Linked DNA regions of Homo sapiens: regions 1 and 3 are each linked to region 2. Evidence: promoter capture Hi-C in 16 types of primary human blood cells and fetal thymus (Javierre and others, 2016). All regions are on one chromosome and are shown on one strand. Each heading gives the region's core, a stretch centred on a gene start or on the middle of the fragment in contact. The rest is flanking DNA. Distances are from core to core; before and after follow the strand shown.

The links. Contacts are between HindIII fragments. The CHiCAGO score rates a contact against its expected background, and 5 or more counts as called.
Region 1: a contact is called between a fragment that was not itself captured here and the fragment with the promoter of PDCL in region 2, in 2 of 17 cell types (total CD8 T cells and total CD4 T cells). The highest score is 6.2, in total CD8 T cells.
Region 3: a contact is called between a fragment that was not itself captured here and the fragment with the promoter of PDCL in region 2, in 1 of 17 cell types (naive B cells). The highest score is 5.2, in naive B cells.

What each region holds. Positions count from the first base shown.
Region 1 is chr9:122,163,394-122,167,276 of GRCh38, forward strand. It overlaps MORN5 (MORN repeat containing 5), which reads left to right. Exons shown (of 5, transcript NM_198469.4): 2 at 3,375-3,522. Among named protein-coding and RNA genes, the nearest start is that of MORN5, 5.4 kb to the left of the region's middle. The HindIII fragment of the contact is 1,291 bases long and covers 1,620-2,910 here.
Region 2 is chr9:122,827,159-122,831,230 of GRCh38, forward strand. It overlaps PDCL (phosducin like), which reads right to left and starts at 1,430. Exons shown (of 4, transcript NM_005388.5): 1 at 1,313-1,430. RefSeq lists an enhancer at 1,332-1,626. The HindIII fragment of the contact is 3,273 bases long and covers 1-3,138 here.
Region 3 is chr9:122,143,953-122,147,668 of GRCh38, forward strand. NDUFA8 (NADH:ubiquinone oxidoreductase subunit A8) reads right to left here. Exons shown (of 4, transcript NM_014222.3): 4 at 106-426. The coding sequence ends at 289. Among named protein-coding and RNA genes, the nearest start is that of NDUFA8, 14 kb to the right of the region's middle. The HindIII fragment of the contact is 1,481 bases long and covers 1,137-2,617 here.

The DNA.
Region 1 (3,883 bases), core at 1,015-3,514, 660 kb before region 2:
GCCCACAGGCTTCCTACAATAGAGCCCTGCTGCTGTGGCCCTTCAGAGGCCACATACAGTCGGAGCCGTCCTTAAAGGCTTCGTGGAAGAGATAGTATTTGAAATGGGCCTTGAAGGTTGGGTAGGATTTAGGTGGTTGGAGATGCAAGGTGAAGAATTCTTTTTCTAGAAGTTTTTAGGCAGAGGGAACAGCATGAGCAATAGCCCAGAGGGCACGTATGGAGTAGAGCTGGCAGTTCAGTTTGGCAGGAGAGTGGGTTGTGCCCAGAGGAGTTATGCAAAGGGAAGCTGGACAGGCGGTCTGTGCTCTGGCAAAGAAATTTCAATACCGTGCACAATTCTGGTGGTGGAGGAACCACTGATAGATCCTGGTAGGGCCAAGCATCAGGAAATAAAACTTATTTCATCTCTGTAACTCTCCTCATAATGCATATGTGTGGTAGAGACTCAGTAAATGTTGGCTGAATGAATGAATGAATGAATCATAGGTTTTGAGGGGTTTGTTTGAGACAGGGTCTCACTCTGGAGTGCTCTGGCTGGAGTGCAGTGGTGCAGTCTTGGCTCACAGCAATGTCCACCCCACCGGACTCAAGCGATCCTCCCACCTCAGCCTCCCCAGTAGCTGGGACCACAGATATGCGCCACCATGCCCAGCTAATTGATAGGTATTTGAGATCTGGTAATCATATCCTTATTATGGATTGAAGCCTTCACTATAAAGTGGTTTTTTTCTTCTTTTTAACTTACTTTGAATTTAGAAGGCAGGCTTTTCACCTTGAATGAATTTTTTAAAATGGAAGAGAAGGAGGGAGAAAGGAAGGGAAAGAGAGAGAGAGAGTGAAGGAGAAAAAGAAGAAGGGAGGAGAAGGAGAGAAGGAGGGACAGAGAGGAGGGAAGCAGGAAAAGTGAAGATGGGGAGATCAGCTCAGAGCTCACTGCAGTTGTCCCAGTAAGAGGCAGCAGAACCCTGGGCCAAGGCAGAAGCAGTGAAGCTGCAGGAAAGAGAAAAATGTAGGAGAGGTTTGGGGATTTTACTGCCAGGAGTTGGCAGCTGATTGGCTCCAGTCCCGTCCAGAGATGGCTTACAGCCCCAGCCCTGGGCCCAGCTCCTGGCCTTGAACCAGAGGATTCTGATACCATTCATGGAAATAGAGAACTCTAAGGAGGTGCTGCTTAGGGGAGGAGGAGATGAGTTCTGTTTTAGGCGAGTTGGAGATGTCTGTGAGAGGTCTGAACAGTGATGTCCAGTTCAAGGTAAGAAAAGGGGTGGGGTCTAACCTCAGAGAAGGGTGTAGAACTTGAATATGGAGATGGTGCTTAGAAATGATAGATGTGAGCTCAAGCAAAGAGTACAGGAGGGAAGGAGAAGAGGAATTCTCCCTTCCCCCCATGTCTTGCACTAGAATAAAAGTGAAATAGTTTTCAATTTCTTGTTCTATGCCGGGCATTCTGCTATAGTTTCACAACCATCGTCTCACTCAGTTATCTCAACAACTTTGTCATCCACTCTGTTCACTGACTACTCTTTCTGTTTCCTTCATTCTTTACTCAGGAGACGTTTATGAAGCACCTGCTTAATGGTTCTAGGAGCTGAGGATACCAAAGTCTTCCTTTAAAGAAGCTTTTCTTAAATACAGGAGATAAGATACCTAATTACAAAACAAGATAGAAAGTGTTACACATCCCGACAGAGGTATTAGCAAAAGCCTAAAGAAGGTCAGAGTTAGGAGAGGAGCCTTCAGCTTGTTAGGAGGAATGGAGAAGGAATGAATGAAAGCATATTTATTAAGCACTCACTATATATATGTCAGGCCCTTTACTAGGAAAATCGTTATATGTTACCTGGATTAATTGCAGCCATTTCACCCATAAAGAAACTGGTCAGCCCAGTGCAGTGGCTCACACCTGTAATCCCAACATTTTGGGAGGCTGAGGCAGGAGGATCATTTGAGCCCAGAAGTTCTAGATCAGCCTGGGCAACATAGGGAAACCCCGTCTCTACAAAAAAAAAAAAAAAAAAAAAAAAATTAAATAAGCCAGGCGTGGTGGGGCACACCTGTGGTTCCAACTACTTGGGAGGCTGAGGTGGGAGGATCACTTGAGTTCAGGGGATTGAGGCTGCATTGAGCCATGATCACACAGCTGTACTGCAGCCTGGGAGACAGAACAAGATCTGGTCTTGGGAAAAAAACAAAAAACAAAACAAAGAAGCTAGTCAACTGGTCAAGCTGGTGTCCCTGCCTTGTTCTCCTGTATGAGCCTGTCTTCCTCCTGCATAGCACTTATCACACATTGTATAATTACTCAATTTTGTCCCCCACTAGACTGTGAGCCCCCCGAGGACAGGGACCGCATCTGCCTTGATCACTGTTGAATCTGTGTTGTATTCAGCAAGTTGGACCATCAGCATAGTCCCTGACAAAATGTAGGTGCTCTGTAAATACCTGTTTGGAAGGAAAGAAGGAAGGGAAGGAAGGGAGGGAGGCACAAGCAAAGAGGTTTGGGAAAGTATCTGTATTAGTCTGTTCTCATGCTGCTGTAAGGACATAACCAAAGACTGGGTAATCTATAAAGGAAAGAGGCTTAATGGACTCACAGTTCCACATGGCTGGGAAGGCCTCACGATCATGGTGGACGCAAAGGGGGAGCAAGGGCACATCTTACATGGCAGCAGGCAAGAGAGCATGTTCAGGGGAATTGCCCTTTATAAAACCATCAGATCTCATGAGACTTATTCACTATCATGAGAACAGCATGGGAAAAACCCACCCCCATGATTCAGTTACCTCCCACTGAGTCCCTCCCATGACATGTGGGGATTATGGGAGCTACAATTCCCGATGAGATTTGGGTGGGGACACAGCCAAACAATATTAGTATCCAAGATTATATATATATATAATGGTGGTAAGCTTCAAACCCTTACTCCTGTCTCTAAATTTCATATTTTCCCTAATATTCCACTTGTGGCATAATAGGCAAGGATGGGTTGGTCATGGGGGACAGAGAAATCACAGAACTAGCTGCCAGAAAACCTGGGCTCTAGTGTCCACAGTTTTTACTGTGTGTGGTTTTGGGCACATCTCTACGCTCTCTGGGCCTACTAGGGGGGTTTATTTCAGGGAGCAGTGTGAACTCCAAGGTGAGAGTGAGCCTCTAGGTGAAGGGGAGAATGAACAGAGCAAACTCTATTCCCCTCTTTTCGTTTTTGAGCTTTTGAGGGAAACAAAACAAAAATTTTGTTTTCAGCAGAGTACTGCTGGGATGAGAAGGATGAGAATGCTGAGAACGGGGTTCCTGCTCACTCTGTTGCCTGCCAGCTCTGATCCTCCAGCTGTCACACAGGGCTCAGTGATTTCCCTGTGTCTTTACAGGATGGAGGGCAAAGCCAAGTACATCCTCCCTACCGAAACAATATATGTTGGGGAAATGAAGGATGGCATGTTTCACGGCGAGGGAACCCTGTACTTCCCCAGCGGAAGCCAATACGACGCCATTTGGGAAAACGGATTGGCCATAAAGGTGATCAGCTGGGGGGACGGATGCTGTGGAGGAGAGATCCTCACGCAAGAAGAGCCTCACCCTCTGGCACCCCATCCTCCCTGTCTGGTGCCCACCTTGTTCCATTCACTCTTCTCTTTGCTTCTCCCCCACTCCCCCCACTTTTTTTTTTTTTTTTTAGTCTCACTCTGTCACCAGGCTGGAGTGCAGTGGCACAATCTCGGCTCACTGCAACCTCCGCCTCCTGGGTTCAAGCGAGTCTCCTGCCTCAGCCTCCCGAGTAGCTGGGACTACGGGCGTGCACCACCATGCCCAGCTAATTTTTGTATTTTTAGTAGAGATTGGGTTTCACCATGTTTGCCAGGATGGTCTCAGTCTCTTG
Region 2 (4,072 bases), core at 180-2,679:
GGTTTTATCTGTGCTTTTAGTTTTCCCACCAGCTAAGACTGCTGCCTAATTGAAAAATTGTTTAAGTATCCTCAGGAAAAACCCCAAAAAGAGGCATCAAGAGTACAATGCTGAGTCACTATTTGTCTAGGCAATCACTCTCTGTCACCAGCCTTCAACTTCCCAGACAACACCCTGAGGGCTTGGATGGATGGTCTCTGAAACGCTACCTATTCTGACAGTTTAAAAGAAGGGCCCATACAAAGATTTTAATAACTCCCAAGGGTTTAAAGGACTATGATGGCCGGGCTCGCGCAGGTAATCCCAGCACTTAGGGAGGCCGAGGAGGGAGGATCACTTGAGACCAGGTATTCGAGACCAGCCTGGCTAACATGGCGAAACTCTTGTCTCTACTAGTAAAAGCAAACAAACAAACAAACAAAAATTAGCCAGGTGTGGTGGCGGGTGTCTGTTTTCCCAGCTACTCAGGAGGCTGAGGCACGAGAATCTCTTGAATCCGGGAGGCGGAGGTTGCAGTGAGCCAAGATCACGCCACTGCACTCCAGCCTGGGAGACAGAGCGAGACTCTGTTTCAAAAAAAAATAAAAACTAAAAATATAAAGGACCAGGCTTCTGCATCAGAAGTAGCCAAGGGCATTCTGATGAAAAGATGCAGCTTAGCCCCCAGAGGCCTGCTTGAGAATTCAGCAGGAATGCGGCTGCCTTAAAGACTTATCACCGGGCCTATCATACTCCATTTACAAAGTGACTCTCTCCCACCGGGCAAGGAGTTCTTGAACGTAGGGACCTCTAGTCACTACCTCTATCCCCAAAGCCCAGCACAATGCCGCTGCACAATTTGCTAAACTCGCAGCCTGGGTCAACGGGAGAATCGGAGGACTCCAGCAGTCAGATGCAAAGGAGACAGGGATCATGGAGAGACAGGTGGAGGTGCCAAGAAGGAACAAAACCAAACTTAAGGCCCAGGAATGGGCCAAGCGGGGGACACAGCAGCGGCGGAGGGGAGGGAAGGAGTTGCGCTCCTAAAGGAGGGACCGCTGCGGGGAGGAGACGAGGGCGGGCCCCCTGGAGACGCGAGCAGAGGAGGCGGGGCCCCCGGACGGGAAGCAGAGGGGTGTGTGGAGCTTTTGGGGGAAGGCTGGAAGGGCCCGGGGGAGGTGGGGCCAGAGGAGGAAAGGGGACGAGGAAGACGCGGAGAACTTGGGGGTCGAGACAGAGCGAAGAAGGGGCAGTTTTACCCAAGCTCGCCAACCCCACTCCCTCCCGTAGTCCGCAGCTGCTGCCGCTTCCCGGTGGACCCCAATGCAGTTACCTGCCCTAGCTCGCTCCGGATCCCTTTGGGCCAGCAGCTCCGGGCGCCGGAAGGAATGGAGCACTTTCTTAAGAGGAAGAGCAGTGGGTCAGCGCCCTGAGCGCTAAAGAGAAAAGCCGCCGAAGCCCGACAGCGCGGACCAATGAGGCGGCCTTCCTGCGTCGTGGCGGACGCGCATTGTCCAATCAGAAGCCGCTACTCCCAGCTGAGGGGCAGGGGAGAAGCTACGGGTCCTACCTTGGAACAAAACACCTCGACAACAACGCTCTCCTAATTGCTTTGTTTTGGTTTTAATCTGCACAACAAAAAAGTGAATTGTATGACCCAGCGTCAAGCAATAAGAAAAATGTATTCACAGGCCGGGCGCGGTGGCTCACGCCTGTAATGCCAGCACTTTAGGAGGCCGAGGCGGGCGGATCACTTAAGGTCATGAGTTCAAGACCAGCCTGGCCAACACGTTGAAAACCCGTCTCTACTAAAAATACAGAAATTAGCCGGGCCTGGTGGCCGACGCCTGTAATCCAAGCTACTCGGGAGGCTGAGGCAGGAGAATCGCTTAAACCCAGGAGGCAGAAGTTGAAGTGGGCCGAGATCGCGCCACTGCACCCCAGCCTGGGCGACAGAGCGAGACTGTCTCAAAAAAAAAGAAAGAAAGAAAAGAAAAATGTATTCACTTCCCTTCGAAGTTTCCGAAGCCATTCAAAGTGTGTTTTTTATTGGTTCTTCATCGCATCACGTCTATTAGACGGAAAAGTGACTCAGAGACGTTCGGTAATTTGCCCGAGAGCACAAATCCCTCAAGTACAGGGCATAGATTAAAATATATATATATATTTTTTTGACGGAGTTTCGCTCTTCTTGCCCAGGCTGGAGTGCAGTGACGCGATCTCGGCTCACTGCAACCTCCGCCTCCCGGGTTCAAGAGATTCTCCTGCCTCAGCCTCCAGAGTAGCTGGGATTACAGGCGTCCGCCAGCAGACCCGGCTAATTTTTTCTATTTTTAGTAGAGACGGGGTTTCACCATTTTAAAGAAGCGGCAGCCAGGAGTGGTGGCGCGCGCCTGTAGTCCCAGCTACGCAGGAGGCTGAGGCGGGAGGATCGCTCAGCCCAGGACTTGGAGGCCAGCCTGGGTGACAGAGCAGGAATGTAATGTGAAATCCGGAATTGGCTCCTGGTATAGAAAAAGGACATGGGGCCGGGTGCGGTGGTTCACTCCTGTAATCCCAGCACTTTGGGAGGCCGAGGCGGGCAGATCACCTGAGGTCAGGAGTTCGAGACCAGCCTGGCCAACATGGCGAAACCCCGTCTTTACTAAAAATACAAAAATTAGCCGGGCATGGTGGTGCACACTTGTAATCCCAGCTACTCGGAGGCTGAGGCAGGAGAATCGCTTGAACCCGGGAGGCGGAGGTTGCAGACAGCTGAGATCGCACCACTGCACTCCAGCTTGGGGGTCAAGACTGAGACTCCGTCTCAAAAAAGAAAAATAAAAAGGACATGAATGGGACAACTGACGAAATTTGAATAAGGCCTATTAATTCATATTAGTAGTATTGTATCAATAGTTTTAATAATTATACTATGTAAGATGTGAACTTTTGGAGATTCTATTAGATGAAGAATCTAGGGAAGCACTATCCTATTTTTGCAACTTTGTTTTCTTCTTCCAGGGTAAAGCCATACTATGATATTTTGCAACTTTTTTTTCTTTTTCCTCAGGCATACTTTGTCGTCTGTTTTTGCAACTTTTTTAAAACCTAAAATGATTTCAAATTCTGAGCCCTTGTTGAAGTATCCAATACACAACCGTGAAGTTGCTCATAGAAAGCTTTGGGTAAATTGAATCATAGAAAATATTCTAGAAAGATACACTGTTTAAAATAGGGCTCTTAATTTGGGGTAGGGGATCTTAATTTGTGGTTCTAGGACCACCTGAAATTGTCTGCAAATTTCTGTACCTGCCTGTTTTCAGAGAGGCTGTTTGCTGAGGCCCTCAGAGGAGTCAAAAAATACCACACACAAACACACACCCATTCAAGAATACTGTATTAATAAGTCCGTTTTCATACTGCTGTAAATAAATAACCCAGTGTCAGGCAGTTCATACTGCTATAAAGAACTGCCCGACACTGGTTTATTTATTTATTTATTTATTTAAGACGGAGTCTTACTCTGTTGCCAAGGCTGGAGTGCAGTGGCGCAATTCTCGGCTCACTGCAATCTCCGCCTCCCAGGTTACAGGCTCCCGCCACCACGCCCGGCTAATTTTTGTATTTTTTAGTAGAGACGGGGTTTCACCGTGTTAGCCAGGATGGTCTCGATCTCCTGACCTCGTGATACACCCGCCTCGGCCTCCCAAAGTGCTGGGATTACAGGCGTGAGCCACCGCGCCCGGCCATATTCAACCTTTTTTAAAAAAAGTAGAAATGGGGTCTTGCTATGTTGCCCACGTTGGTCTCAAATTCAGACCTTTTAATATATTCAGTCTCCTGGTTGTATAGATATAGTGATGTCTTTGTTGGGAATGTAGCTTGCATCTGTCAGGAATATGTGTACATGAGTTAGCTATCTAATAATATCCAACAGAACCACTCATTTTTCCTGTTAGAAATGTGGAATGGGCCAGGCATGGTGGCTCACACCTGTAATCCCAGCACTTTGGGAGGCCGAGGTGGGCAGATCACGAGGTCAAGAGATCAAGACCATCCTGGCCAATATGGTGAAACCCCGTCTCTACTAAAAATACAAAAATTAGCTGGG
Region 3 (3,716 bases), core at 627-3,126, 680 kb before region 2:
CTAAAGCAAAGCAAGAGGAACAGGCAGGACCACAAGAAGAAAAAAGCAAGGGGAAGTCATCTTTAAAGGCCAAAAGGTCACATAAAACATAATAAAATACAACCGTTTCCTTTAAAAATTTTAATGGACAGGAAATGGTATAGAATAACTGCCAAGTCACATAAGTTAACTTTTTTGTTAATGTTTGTGATCCCGGAAAGAACACACTATCAGTCGATGCAAACCGCATGGGCGTTTTCATCAGTCGTTGTCTGAGCACATGACCGAGTGTGGGCCACGGACCCATCTTTACTTGGTCCAGAAATAAAAGCGGCTGCCATGTGTGGCAGGCTGCAGATCTCCCTCGATCTCAGGGCTGGGATCCGGTCTTGGTCTTGAGTGATAGGGATTCTCCGGTAAAGGTCGATCTGTTTTCACTTTGGTGACCTGGGAAGGGTGAAGAGGGCAAAAGCAAAGTTGAAAGCTAGGGTGGAGGAATCTGTAACCATCAATGCGCCTCCTGGTGTCTCCTCATTGCTCCCGCTGCTACAACTGCTCCCCGACTTAAATTCCCAGCAAATCACATTCAGACGTATTTAATCATTGAACAAACACTCAGGAAAGCCTACTTTATGTCATTCCATGTGGTAGAAACTAGGGATACAGAAGGGAACAAGATACTGTCCTCAAGGGGATCACAGTCTAGTGAGGGAGAAAGCCAGGAATAACAACCAAGATTTCCAAATCACCCTGATGGCTAATGGCAATGATGGAGACAGGAACTGCCTCTATAGGAGCAAGGACTGTGCACATCTAACCCATCCTGAAGGCTGGGGGTCTGGAATATTTTTAAGGAGGTAAGACTTAGCTTAAAGTCTGAGCAGGAGCCAGTCAGAAAGGCAAGGGAGGAAAAGACATTCCAAGGAAAGACTACATATGAAGATAGGCAGGCATGTCTTCAGAATGGCTGAATCAAAGGCTGCATGAAGAATGGAGGGAGATGAAGCATCTCACCAAGAACTTATTGCTAGAAATGATGCTGAGCACATGATTCCATTCCATTTTCACTCTTAGGAGGTCATTCTGCAGGGGCTCACTGAGGCCACCTAGCTAATAGTGGAAGAAATTGTACACAAAGCCAGATATGCCTACTCCAAAGCTTGTGCTTCTTAATACCACACTACAGTGGTGGACAGGCCAGATGATAAAGGGTATTAAATGATATGCAAAGGTGTTTGCGTTTTAACCTGACGGTTAACAGGTGCCACTGAAGCACGGCAGTAACTAAATCCCATCTCTGTAGGCTGGGAAGTGTGAAAGCTAAAGTGGAGAGAGGCAAGACCCAAATTGGGGAGCTGAGCCAATAAGCCAGGAGAGTGGTGAAGTACTAAACTGCAACAGGGAGAGAGATAATTTACACTCACAGTATCCCCTGATGGTCACAAAAATCTCAACTGGAAAGCCAGCAGAAACTGCTGTCATTTTAAAGATAAAGAAATAGGCCCAGAGAAGTAAGAAGACATAAGGCCACAGCTGTCAGCAGTCTTCTGATTATTCTTCTACTGGGCTGAACTCTTAAGTCACCTCATGTAAAATGACCAGATTCATCTTCCTAGATGTATAAATTCAGAAACCTTTTATTGGGAACAGAGCTTTTGTGTATACAATCACCCAATTATTATTATAACCACCTTATGAGGCATTATTATCTCTAGTGCACAGATGAAGACCAGGGAGGTTGGCATGCCTAAGATAAGATACACACTAATGTCAGAGCTAAAGCTGGAACCTAAGTCTTCAAGTCTACTAGTTTCGTTTGTTTGCTTTTGAAAGTTATCCCACCGCCCTGTCATAAGTACAGATGGTTCCTAATGATCCACTAGTGGTTCCTTGGTATTTGCAGCTCCTTTAAGGAATTAAAGACATTTATGAAATTGGCTGGGCACAGTGGCTCATGCCTGTAATCCCCGCACTCTGGGAGGCTGAGGCAGGTGGATCACTTGAGGTCAGAGTTCAAGACCAGCCCAGGCAACATGGTGAAACCCCTTCTCTACTAAAAATACAAAATTTAGCTGGCCATGGTGGCGGGTGCCTGTAATCCCAGCTACTCAAGAGGCTGAGGCAGAATTGCTTGAACCCGGAAGGCACTGGTTGCAGTGAGCAGAGATCGTGGCACTGTACTCCAGCCTGGGTGACAGAGTGAGACTCCACTTCAAAAAGAAAAACAAAAAAAATGTTGCCCAGGCTAGTCCTGAACTCGTGAGCTCAAGCGATCCTCCTGCCTCAGCCTCCCAAAGTGCTAGAATTGCAGGTGTGAGCCATGGCACCTGATCGAGAAATACACTTTTGAAAAGAGTTAAGAGAATTTTTTTTTTATCTCACAGAGTTTTAAAAAATGTTAATACAAAGATTCAAGAATAAATATGCTTTCTTACTAGCATGACTTGTTATTTCTTCTTTCATAAGTCAGAAATGAGAAAAGGTAGTTTTATTTGTTACATGTATAAGTTCTACCACTTTCCAATCTAGAATTATCAACTATTTAAAATAATATGTTCAGTACATCAAAAAGTATCTGAAAATAATCAAGCCAGATATAAAAGACAAAAAAATTGCTAAGTTATTACTCATGACACCAAGCTTATAATCCAACCATTCACAGATGCTATACACAAAGAGAAGGGAACTAGACCGGGTATGGTGACCTGTAATCCCATCACACTGGGAGGCTAAGGTGGGAGGACTGCTTGAGCTCAGGATCTCAAGACCAGACTGGGTAATATAGCAAAATCCTGTCTCTACTAAAATACAAAAATTAGTTGGGCATGGTGGCCTGTGCCTGTAGTCCCAGCTACTTGGGAGGCTGAGGTGGGAGAATCACCTGTGCCCAGGAAGTCAAGGCTGCAGTGAGCTGTGATCGCACCACTGCATTCCAGCCTAGGAGAGAGAGTAAGACCTGAGTTTTTTCCTCCATGCCTTGCTACCTGTGCTGCTCCACAGGGAACAGAGGGAGCTGAGGCTGAAGAAGCAGGGATGGGTCAGATCATAAAGGGCCTGCATGCCATGTTATGGAGAAGATGCTTTATCTCACCAGCAATGGAGAGTCCCCGTACAGTTTTTAAAAACACAGTGACATAAGATTTGTTTTCCACACAGATCACTCTTCTTGTGGAGGTGTAATTTAATCCTCAATTCTTCAATTTCATCTAAAGCCCACATTGATCCACCCTCCTCTCCCAGAAATTCATGTACCCCAGGTTAAGAACTCCTGTCCAAGAATAAGATAACAGCAGCAGGAACAATGAGAGGATTAAAAAAAAAATTCCAGAAGATGCTAATCTAAAGGAAGTGATGACTGCATGGAATCAGTAGGGAATGAAGAATTCAGGTTTCTAGCTCTGATGTTTCAACAGATGGTGGTGTCAAAACTAAGATAGGAAATATAGGAGAAAGAGAAACACTTTTAAAAGTACAAGAATGTAGTTTTAAAAAAAAAATCTTAGATATGTTCCTGAAAAATGTGGCATAAGCCTGATCCTATTTCCCCAGTGAATTCCACAATAACCTCCACAATGTTTTCAACTGACAGTGTTTCACTAATACTTTATCTTTCTCTACTCCCTTCTGTTCTTTAATTAGCTAATTAACTAAAAACAAACCTGCACATGCTAGAAGGCCTAAAGAAATTTTTTTTTTTTTTTTTTTTTTTGAGACGGAGTCTCGCTCTGTTGCCCAGG